Linked DNA regions of Homo sapiens: regions 2 and 3 are each linked to region 1. Evidence: promoter capture Hi-C in 16 types of primary human blood cells and fetal thymus (Javierre and others, 2016). All regions are on one chromosome and are shown on one strand. The core of a region is centred on a gene start or on the middle of the fragment in contact, and the rest is flanking DNA. Distances in the headings are between cores, read along the strand shown. Region 1 has its middle 55 kb from the start of SRGAP3-AS4. Region 2 holds the start of CAV3 (caveolin 3). Region 3 holds the start of OXTR (oxytocin receptor).

What was found. The method cuts DNA at HindIII sites, captures the fragments that hold promoters and counts their contacts. A CHiCAGO score of 5 or more calls a contact.
Region 2: the fragment with the promoter of CAV3 here is called in contact with a fragment that was not itself captured in region 1 in 1 of 17 cell types (endothelial precursors); the score reaches 5.2 in endothelial precursors.
Region 3: a contact is called between the fragment with the promoter of OXTR here and a fragment that was not itself captured in region 1, in 3 of 17 cell types (naive B cells, M1 macrophages and endothelial precursors). The highest score is 7.1, in naive B cells.

What each region holds. Positions count from the first base shown.
Region 1 is chr3:9,302,931-9,306,230 of GRCh38, reverse strand. It overlaps a transcript of SRGAP3 not described here. Among named protein-coding and RNA genes, the nearest start is that of SRGAP3-AS4, 55 kb to the right of the region's middle. The HindIII fragment of the contact is 5,856 bases long and covers 1-3,300 here.
Region 2 is chr3:8,732,175-8,735,474 of GRCh38, reverse strand. CAV3 (caveolin 3) reads right to left here and starts at 1,673. Exons shown (of 2, transcript NM_033337.3): 1 at 1,485-1,673. The coding sequence starts at 1,598. The HindIII fragment of the contact is 6,732 bases long and covers 1-3,300 here.
Region 3 is chr3:8,768,363-8,771,662 of GRCh38, reverse strand. OXTR (oxytocin receptor) reads left to right here and starts at 2,050. Exons shown (of 4, transcript NM_000916.4): 1 at 2,050-2,432; 2 at 3,072-3,167. RefSeq lists enhancers at 1,886-1,935, 2,583-3,254. The HindIII fragment of the contact is 6,509 bases long and covers 1-3,300 here.

The sequences.
Region 1 (3,300 bases), core at 353-2,852:
GAACAGACGCTTCTCAAAAGAAGACATTTATGCAGCCAAAAAACACATGAAAAAATGCTCGTCATCACTGGTCATCAGAGAAATGCAGATCAAAACCACAATGAGATGCCATCTCACGCCATTTGGAATGGAGATCATTAAAAATTCAAGAAACAACAGATGATGGAGAGGATGTGGAGAAGAAATAGGAACACTTTTACATTGTTGGTGGGAGTGTAAATTAGTTCAACCATTGTGGAAGACAGTGTGGTGATTCCTCAAGGATCTAGAACTGGAAATACCATTTGACTTAGCAAACCCATTGCTGGGTATATACCCAAAGGATTATAAATCATGCCACTATAAAGACACATGCACACGTATGTTTATTGCGGCACTATTCACAATAGCAAAGACTTGGAACCAGCCCAAATGTCTATCAATGATAGACTGGATTAAGGAAATGTGGCACATATACACCATGGAATACTATGCAGCCCTAAAAACGGATGAGTTCATGTCCTTTGCAGGGACATGGATGAAACTGGAAACCATCATTCTCAGCAAACTATCACAAGGACAGAAAACCAAACACTGCATGTTCTCACTTATAGGTGGGAATTGAACAATGAGAACACCTGGACACAGGGTGGGGAACATCACACACTGGGGCCTGTCGGGGGGTGGGAGACTGGGGGACGGATAGCATTAGGAGAAATATCTAATGTAAATGACAAGTTGATGGGTGCAGCAAACCAACATGGCACATGTATACCTATGTACCAAACCTGCACATTGTGCACATGTACCCTAGAACTTAAAGTATAATAAAAAAATAAAAATAAAAAACAGCAACAAAAAAAATCTAAAAAAAAAAAAAAAAAAAAAGAGAGGACCTCCTGTGAGGGCTGTGGGTAGCTTCAGCCCCTCCCTGTTACACCGCAGCGTTCGCGTGGAGGTCACACTCTTCTTGAGCTGCCCTCACCAGTGACTGAGCACCAGGAGGACACTACAGTCCCGAAGCCTGAGGCTCTTCCTGCCCAATCCTTCCTCCCCTTCTCTCTTCTTTGGTGGCAGACCTGCAGCAGGGTCTGAGACTTTCTGGGCCTGCTCCTATTCCCTCACTCCTTTATCCTTCTTAGATGTTTCTTCCAATTAGTCTTTTGTATGTCTAATTTTGTCTTAGCGTCAGCTTCCTGGAAGGCCCAACCTGACATTTCTTTGTTCTCAGGACCCTGACATAATGGAGATGGAACAACCTCTGAAGGTTGTTGTGAGGATTAAATGAGGTATTGTTGAGAAAGGCTTAGCAGAAGGCCAGCACAGAGGAGGAGCTTAGTGATATTATTCCCCAGGTGAGCAGGTGGAGAATGGTATCTGTCAGATGTCAGTTTCATTAGCTGTTGCAACCCAGTGGACTGTCCCTGAATACCTGTCCCCTGGGAGTTTCTTCAGGAATAAGGGACTCAAAATTGGAAATGGGAAGCCCTGGGAAGATGCATCCCAGGCCCTCAGGGAGTGAGCATACGACCTCTGGAAGAAACTCCTGGTTTTGGGGAGGTCCTAGTGCGGAGGGGGAGAAGCCCAAATGGGAGGCTTTGAGCTTTATCCCTCACTGACAACAGCACCGGCCACTCGCTGTAGCTTGGAGGAGAGAGCCAAGGGCAGCAGAACATGGTGAACCTGGGCGTCAGAGTAAAATCCCAGCTCTGCCATTTACTACCTACCCACCAGGGCTGCTGTTAGATTTAAGATGCTAAAGATAGAATGCTGAGCACAGAGTGAATGTCTAAGACCTACTAGTTCCACTCCCCTCCCCGATACCATTTTCATTCTACCGTTCTTGTAACTACTCTGGGTTTGAGAATTATGGCAGGAGACTGTGCTAAGGAGCCAAAGTCTAATCTCTGGATTGCTGAGAATAAAAGGAAGGTCTGGGGAAAGAAAGGAGGGAGGGCAAGTGGGCATGAAGAAGAACAGAGCTTTCATTAGGCAAGTGTTTATGGGCAACCCCCACGTGCCAGGCTCTCTGCTGGGTGTTGGGTTATGCAGGTGATTAGGACACAGGCACTGTTCTTAAGGAGCTCAGGTGCTGAAGGGGAAGTTACTGTTGTGGACTAACTGGTCTGTAAGTCGTACATGGGGTCCCGTACCACAGGCAGGCACAGAGCTTGGCAGCAGTGCGACCCTGGACAGAATTGTTTGTGAAACGTCTCCCCTTCCAGACGAAGTTATTATAGCTCTTGTGATTTTGTGTGGTGCCTAGATTTCCCCCGTTGTACACTCAGTTCAGGAGTACTTACTCAAGTCTCACTCAAGGGCATGGGGACCCCAAACACCTTGTTCATGTGCACCCCAGGGCCCAGCACACTGTAGGCAGATGTGTGTTGACTGAGTGGTCTTCAGTTTCCTTATTTTAAGATGAAGATAATGTTGATCTTAACAGGCTGTTGTGTGGATTAAATGAAGTAATGTTTATCAAGTGTAAATCGCCTTCCAAATGTTATTATTGTAGACTTTTCAAATTGGTGCAGTCTCTTGTGGATTAAGCCAGTGACTTGAGCAGTCATTCTATACCTTCCTCATGGCTATTTTGAAGATTAAATAAATTAATATAAATAAAATGCTTAGAACAAGGCTTATCACATCACAAACACTCAAAAAGTGTTAGCTAAATCAACAAGGATAAAATTTCAGGTATGCAAGATGATTAAGTTTTAGAGATCTCTATATAGGTGTAGTATATAGTTAATACTGCTGTATTGTGTACTGGAAAATCCATTAAGAGGGTAGGTCTTATGTTAAGTGTTCTTTTTTTTTTTTTTTTGAGATGGAGTCTCACTCTGTCGCCCAGGCTGGAGTGCAGTGGTGCGATCTCAGCTTGCTGCAACCTCCACCTCCCGGGTTCAAGCAATTCTCCTGCTTCAGCCTCCTCAGTAGCTGGGACTACAGGCATGCGCCACCATGCCCAGCTAATTTGCGTACTTTTAGTAGAGATGGGGTTTTACCATGTTGGCCAGGCTGGTCTTGAACTCCTGGCCTCAAGTAATCTGCCCGCCTAGGCCTCCCAAAGTGCTGGGATTACAGACATGAGCCACCGCGCCTGGCACGTGTTCTTGCCACAATTAAAAACAAACAAACAAACAAACAAACAAATGTAAAGGAAAAAATATAAGTAAGAAAAAATCGAGGCAGTGTTACAGCTTGTCAGAGTGCTCAGAACAAATGCTGTATAACTTCTAGAATTTATCATCTACATTGGTTTATAACCATTTACTATTTCAAAAGTGGTGACAAAAGGTGGTGGTGGGAGATATTAGG
Region 2 (3,300 bases), core at 424-2,923, 570 kb after region 1:
AGTACAGGCATGCGAATCGATTTTCACATGTACATTTTATGAAATCTAAATGCAGAACAAGCATTTCGGATGAAAATGTGGGGTCTGAACTGAAATATACTGTGGGTATAGGAAGCACACTGGATTTCAAACTTGAAGACTGTACAATAGCTCATTGATAATTGTTTTATATTGCTTACATGTTGAAATAATACTATTTTAGATATATAGGGTTAAGTAAGAAATATCAGGAACATTAATTTCACCTGTTTGCTTTCGCATTTTAAAATGTGGCTGCTAGAAAATTTTAAATTCCTTGTGGTAACAGTATCCCTATTGGACAGCACTGGCCTGAGATTCCAATGCTTTCAGTAGGATCTGAGAGGCCTCAGACACTGGCCTCTTAACAGCCCCTCCAGTGACTCAGATGCTGGTGGCTGGGGACCCTTCTTGGAGGAATTCTGCTTTAGAAAGGTACCTCTGAGCCAGTTGTGGAGTCTTGCACCTGTAATCCCAGCACTTTGGGAGGCAGGAGGATCACTTGAGCCCAAGAGTTTGATACCAGCTTGGTCAACATAATGAAACCCAGTCTCTACTAAAAATACAAAAATTAGCTGGGCATGGTGGCACTCGCCTGTGGTCCCAGCTAATCAGGAGGTGGAGGAGGGAGAATCACTTGAGCCTGGGAGGTTGAGGCTGCAGTGAGGCGTGAGTGTGCGACTGCACTCCAGCCTTGGGGACAGAGAGAGACTGTCTCAAAAAGAAAAAAGAAAGATCCCTCTGGGTACTGGCTGGAAGTTGGATTGAAGGTGTGGGCCTGGAGGCAGCAGGGCCGCTAGTGTCACCAGGAGGCGAGGGAAGAGGCCCAACTTCAGACGCTGAGAGACTCCCTGAGGGCTAGACAACCCCGAGCTTTCTCTTCGAGGGTCCCGGGTGCCGTCTGCCCTGTCCTGGCCACTAGACCTGGGGTGAGGGGGTAGCTAGGGGAGGGCTGGGCATGGCCCTCGGCCTTGGGGACAGATATTGGGCAGTGCTCTGGGGGAGTGAGTGTACCTCGAGGGGCTGCCGGCCCTGCTGGAAGCTGCCCTCTGGGGATTAACCCTGCACCCACTGGAGAGACCGCAGAAATGCCCCTTGGCACAGAAAGGAGCCCAACTTGGCCGCCCGTTCCTGTTCCTCCCAGGGTGAGAGCCAGGAGTGAGTGGCAGGAGCGTCACAGTAGTAAGGAGGGATTTTCTTTGTGACTCGCTCCTCCTGCCCTGATTAGCACTTAGGTCATGGAGATGAGGCTAATTTTTTGCTCTTGATTTTGCTAAAGATCCTTCGGTGATTTAGAAGCCTTTTTTTGGGGGTGGGGTGGGGTTGGGGGGGTGATACAGAGACAACAGAGCAACAAGTCTCTTTTCAGGGAAACTGTGTCTGCAGCAGATACCCTCCCCTGCCAAGCGCCCACGTCTCGCAAACCTGACACTCTCCGCCCGCCGAGGCAGGCCTGCAGAGCCTACCTTGACTATGTCCTCGTTAATGTTCTTGGGGTCTCGGTTCACCAGGTCAATCTCCTTGCAGTGGATATCCTTGACGATCTGGGCCTCGAGATCTGTGTGCTCTTCTGCCATCATCGCAGAGCTGGGGGGATCCACAGGAGGAGATCCGAGCTGTGTGGCCGGCTGGGGCTGAAAATACTTGGGGCAGAGAGACCAATTCAGTGTCCCCAGACTTATGTCCCTGCCAGCTAAATAGGCCCCACCCAGCATGCCGGCTGACAGCTGTCCCACATAACTTCAGCCTGCCTCTCTCTAAAGCCTCCTGTGGCAGGCCTCCAAGCTAAAATTAAGACTGGAGCTCTTCTGGAAGGCCGATCGCTCCTTAAAGGGGGCTGCCTCAGGGCACTGGGCCTCAGGAGAGGGTGCAGAGGGCCTAGCGTTTCCTATGCATCGTGTGGCTGTGGCCAACTCGGCGGTCGCTCCGGGGCCCCTGGAATTTGCCCCACTGCTGTCAGCATTTTGGCTCCTTTGGGGTGCACTGCCCGTGGAGGGAAGTGGGGTTAGTCCCTCCTCTGCCTCTGGCTGGCTGTGTGACCTTTGGCACACTTCACCTCTCTAGGCCACTCTGTCCCCATCTGTAAAATGGAGAGATGATAATAACAATCAGGGCTCTCCTACCCAGGGAATGGCTTCAGGAGCTGGAATGCGATGTAGTGGGGCTTCTCGTTGGATTGCCAGTGCCTGGCCCTGCTGCTTGGTGACCTGGAGCAGGTCCGAGCTTTGTGGGTTTCTGAGGTTTCCACCTGGAGCAGGAGTTGATGGACTGTGGTGTGGGGCCAGGCTGGGGATGAAACAGGGAGAGGAAGCTGCTGTGGGGCTGCCCCTCGTCTGCCGTCTGGAGCCTGCACTGGGATATGCCCGGTGGGGGGAACATGAAGTCCATGTTCGTGCTACCCTTCACCCTGCCCTAGTGACAGCTTCCAGGATTTTCTTGGGTCCCAGACACTCCACATGCATCAGTGGGGTGCACCTCTCTTAGATACCTGCTCGGTTTTTCTGTGCCCTCTTCTAACTCAGCCTTCCCCTGGGCTCCAGCAGCATGAAGGATGGCAACTCTGAATCCTCAGGGGTCAGGGTCTGTGCTTCCATTTACCTGTCTATTCACTCCTTCATTCAGGATTTGCTAATAGCTGGGGATAAACAGACCAACAAGGCTCTGTCCGCCTTGAAGTGCTCCCAGTCAAGGTGGGGAGACTAATTAAAACAATAAGTGATTATAATACTGTGCGGTAAGTGCCACAGATCAGAGATATTTTACAAAGAGCTGGTCTTAGAAGTCCATAGGAGTCAGTAACTTACTCTGAGGACACCGGGGAAGACTTCCTGTGGGAGGTGGCTTTGCAGATAGGTATCGAATGACAAGCAGGAGCTCAGCACCTAGAACACTTCAAGTTACAGGATTGTGGATATTGAGGAGTGGTATAGACAGGAATGTTGAAAAGTGTGGAGTGGCTGGAGCACAGGGTGTCTGGGGTTGAGGCAGGAGATACAGCTCAGCTCAGGCCTGGGTGTGCAGCATCCCAAATGTCATACTAAAGAATGTGGATTTTGTCTAGGGGTGCTGGAAAGCCATTGAAGGCTTCAAAGCAGGACAGGGTCGGTATCAGATTTGTGTGTGAGGAAGCTCCCTGGTGGCCAGGTGGAGGGTGGATTGGAGCTGGGTGAAGTTTGAGGTAGGAGGGGGAAAACCAGAGGTGATTTAGGCTTTATCAATAATTACACCTGGCTAGTAACACAAAGGATGCAAAAGTAATAGTGACTTGAATAAGGTAGGAAC
Region 3 (3,300 bases), core at 801-3,300, 540 kb after region 1:
ATTCAGTGTTGTAGGTGGCACATGACAAATTCAATTTTTGCTTTTTGGAACTTTGAGGATTTTTTTTCCTGAATATTTTCAATCCATGATTGTTTGAATCCACTGAACTCACAGATACAGGGATATAGAGGGCCAACTGTATGTATTAAGTGCTGGCAATGTGCTAGGCACCAAGCAATTCATCTTTAGTCCTTCCTCCAAAACGCCAAAGTGATTCCCCTGCACCACTCTCTGAGAAGTATGCCTTTTTTCTTTGCTTCCTGGAGAACTCATTCTGGAGCTCTGAAATCCAGCTACCTCTTTGTAAAACGATCTCCCAAGTATTACCTCAGCCCCCAGCAGTCCTCACTTCTGTAACATCATTTATTGTTGTCACACTGCAAATATTAGGTTGATGCAAAAGTAATTGCAGTTTTTGCCATTATTTTTAATAGCAAAAACCACAATTACTTTTGCACCAATCTAATATGTGTTTTTCTCCCTGGCCGAAGCTCAAAGGTGAAGGAGCATGTCTTATTCATTGTTAGGAGTTTTCAAGGGGACCTCTCTATTTCCTGCCTGGTTTCTGCACACAATGAGAAATAAAACAAAAGACAGGAAATGGGGATCACACTATTACTGTTGTTGTTATTGTTGTTGTTTAGATTAAAACTAAGTTAGAGAATTTACCTTTTGCATGAGACTAAATAGCCCTGTTAGGTGAATCCAGAATTAGGCTGTCTCACGGGCTACGCGAGGACCACACAGGTAGGCAGGCTTCCCTACAAAGGGTAGAAGAGTCTGTCCTTGGTGAAGTGGCTCAGTAAACTTGCTCCCTAGAAAGCAGCTGTCTTCCAGGAGAAAGAAGGGCAGGCTTGGTTCTACAGGCCAGTGTTTTCCTTCTCACATTCACCGGTCAGGGGCTCATAGGGAAAAATCTGCCTTCATCCAGCCGTGGAGTGAGGCAGGGGTGTTTTACCTGCTAGGATTGAACCCTCAGATTGCACAGATTATACAGTTTCAGAAAACCAGAGGGACAGGACCTCAGACATTAGCTATCTTGACCAGTGCTCTCATTTTACATATGAGGAGACTGAGGCCCAAAGAGAAGGGGCTTGCCCAAGGTCACTTCATTCTCACCTGAGTCGTCTGTAACTTTAATCTGTAATTTTCGAGGCCGATAGGTACTATTGACTAATATTGATTAATACTGCCTGCCACCCCTTGGCAATGCTGTCAAGATTCCCAGCCCCATTCTGGAATGATTACTCAGCTAGAACCCTGGGATCCAGGTGCTGTAAGGTTGGCCCCTGGGATATCTCGGCATGGGGCTGTAATTGTGGATTAAGGAAACCCAGTCCTTGGCTAACTCAAGTCTCTCCACATAATAAAAAGACGGAGAAGTGAAATGTCAGGAGGAAATACACATTTAATGCATTTTAAAGAGCCCTGTTTATTTTTGAATCCTGGCCTTTTTTTCTGACTTAATTCTTGGCCACTGTAAATTACTTCAAAAAATGATTTTAGAATAGAGAAGGGGCAGGGAGGCTGAGAAGCTGTCTTTAACATTTTATCTTCCTTTGGCATCATTTAGAATTTTAATTCCGAAGCGCGACAAGGAGGCAGAAACGGCTCTTGGGCGCAGACAAGCAGAATCACTTTAAATGAAGACAGTGTTGTGCTTCAGAATTTCCTCTAAAACTACCGAAAAAATAACGCCTCTCCCAGCACTGCTTAGAATAGAGGCCATTTCTAATTCCTCATTAACGGGAATAGGAACAAAAGTATTCCAAAGCAAAGACTTATTTGAGTTCACTGCTAAAGCCGCTACATCAAGCTGGAGGTGTGGGGGGAGAGAAAAGCCTGAAAATTAACATCATTTTTGGGAAATAATCAGTTTAAATGCTTTTGTAACTTCATCACTATCTACCCGGGGAAGAACATTATTATTCAAGCCTCCTATGTGTCTCGGAGTCAAGAGCTTCTAAACCAAGAAAGGAAGAAACGGGCGGGTTATTGACGAGTTCCCTCCCTCTCGCAGTTTTAAACCACTGCAAAATAAACCCATTTGTTAAGGCTCTGGGACCAACGCTGGGCGAACCAGCTCCGCTCCGGAGGGGTCTGCGCGGCTGGCCTCGCCCGCCCCCTAGCGGACCCGTGCGATAGTGCAGCCTCAGCCCCAGCGCACAGCGCCGCATCCAGACGCTGTCCGCGCGCGCAGCCTGGGAGGCGCTCCTCGCTCGCCTCCTGTACCCATCCAGCGACCAGCCAGGCTGCGGCGAGGGGATTCCAACCGAGGCTCCAGTGAGAGACCTCAGCTTAGCATCACATTAGGTGCAGCCGGCAGGCCATCCCAACTCGGGCCGGGAGCGCACGCGTCACTGGGGCCGTCAGTCGCCGTGCAACTTCCCCGGGGGGAGTCAACTTTAGGTTCGCCTGCGGACTCGGTGCAGGTAGCTGGGTGCTAAGCAGGGGTGGACGGGATGGCTAGGGCCGGTGGAGCCATCGGGACCCGAGTGGAGGTGGTGGGGTGCCTCGCACTCCTTGTTCCTGGAGGAGCTCGGGGTGTTCCGAGAGATTGTAAAGTGACTTCTCGGGATTGAGACTCAGAGTCCTTGATTATCTGGGTCCAAAGCGCAAGTCAGGGGTTCCAGAACTTTCGAGGCTGCCGGGCTGGGGAGGAGCCCCGCGGGAGGTGTCTATGCCAGGGTCTGGGAACAGCGCTTGGGCATCTTGGGCTTTGAGGCAGGGGTTCCCCCAGCAGGGACTGCAGAACCGGGTTTCCACCGAAGCAGGTGCTGTGGAAGTTCAGGGAGTGACGGCCGACCGTCTTAGAAAAGGGGGTTAGACGGGGAAGGACCAGAGCTGGGGTTTCCCAGGCAAGTGGCTATTTGGGGATTTCCGGAGGAAGTACTTGAATTAATGTTTACTAGGAGAGGGGCTGGTTTGGGGGTCCCGCGGCAGGTGGATATGCTGAGGGTCGGAGCCTGGGGCGAGTAGGTAGTTTGGAGATTCCCTCGGGGAGGTGATTTGGTTTTAGATTCCCACTCCCGGAGGAACGTTGCTGATTTTGACCCTCCCTTCTCCCCCAGTGGAAGCCGCTGAACATCCCGAGGAACTGGCACGCTGGGGGCTCTGGGCTTGTGGCCGGTAGAGGATTCCCGCTCATTTGCAGTGGCTCAGAGGAGGTACCTCCAACGGGGATTTCTGGGGTGGCGGCTGAGCAACCCGAGGCCGGCGGTTGTGCCCTGTTGTTTCAGATGAGTTGGGTTCCTGGGAATGGGACAAGCACGCCCTACCCGCGTCGGAAGAGAAACGCGG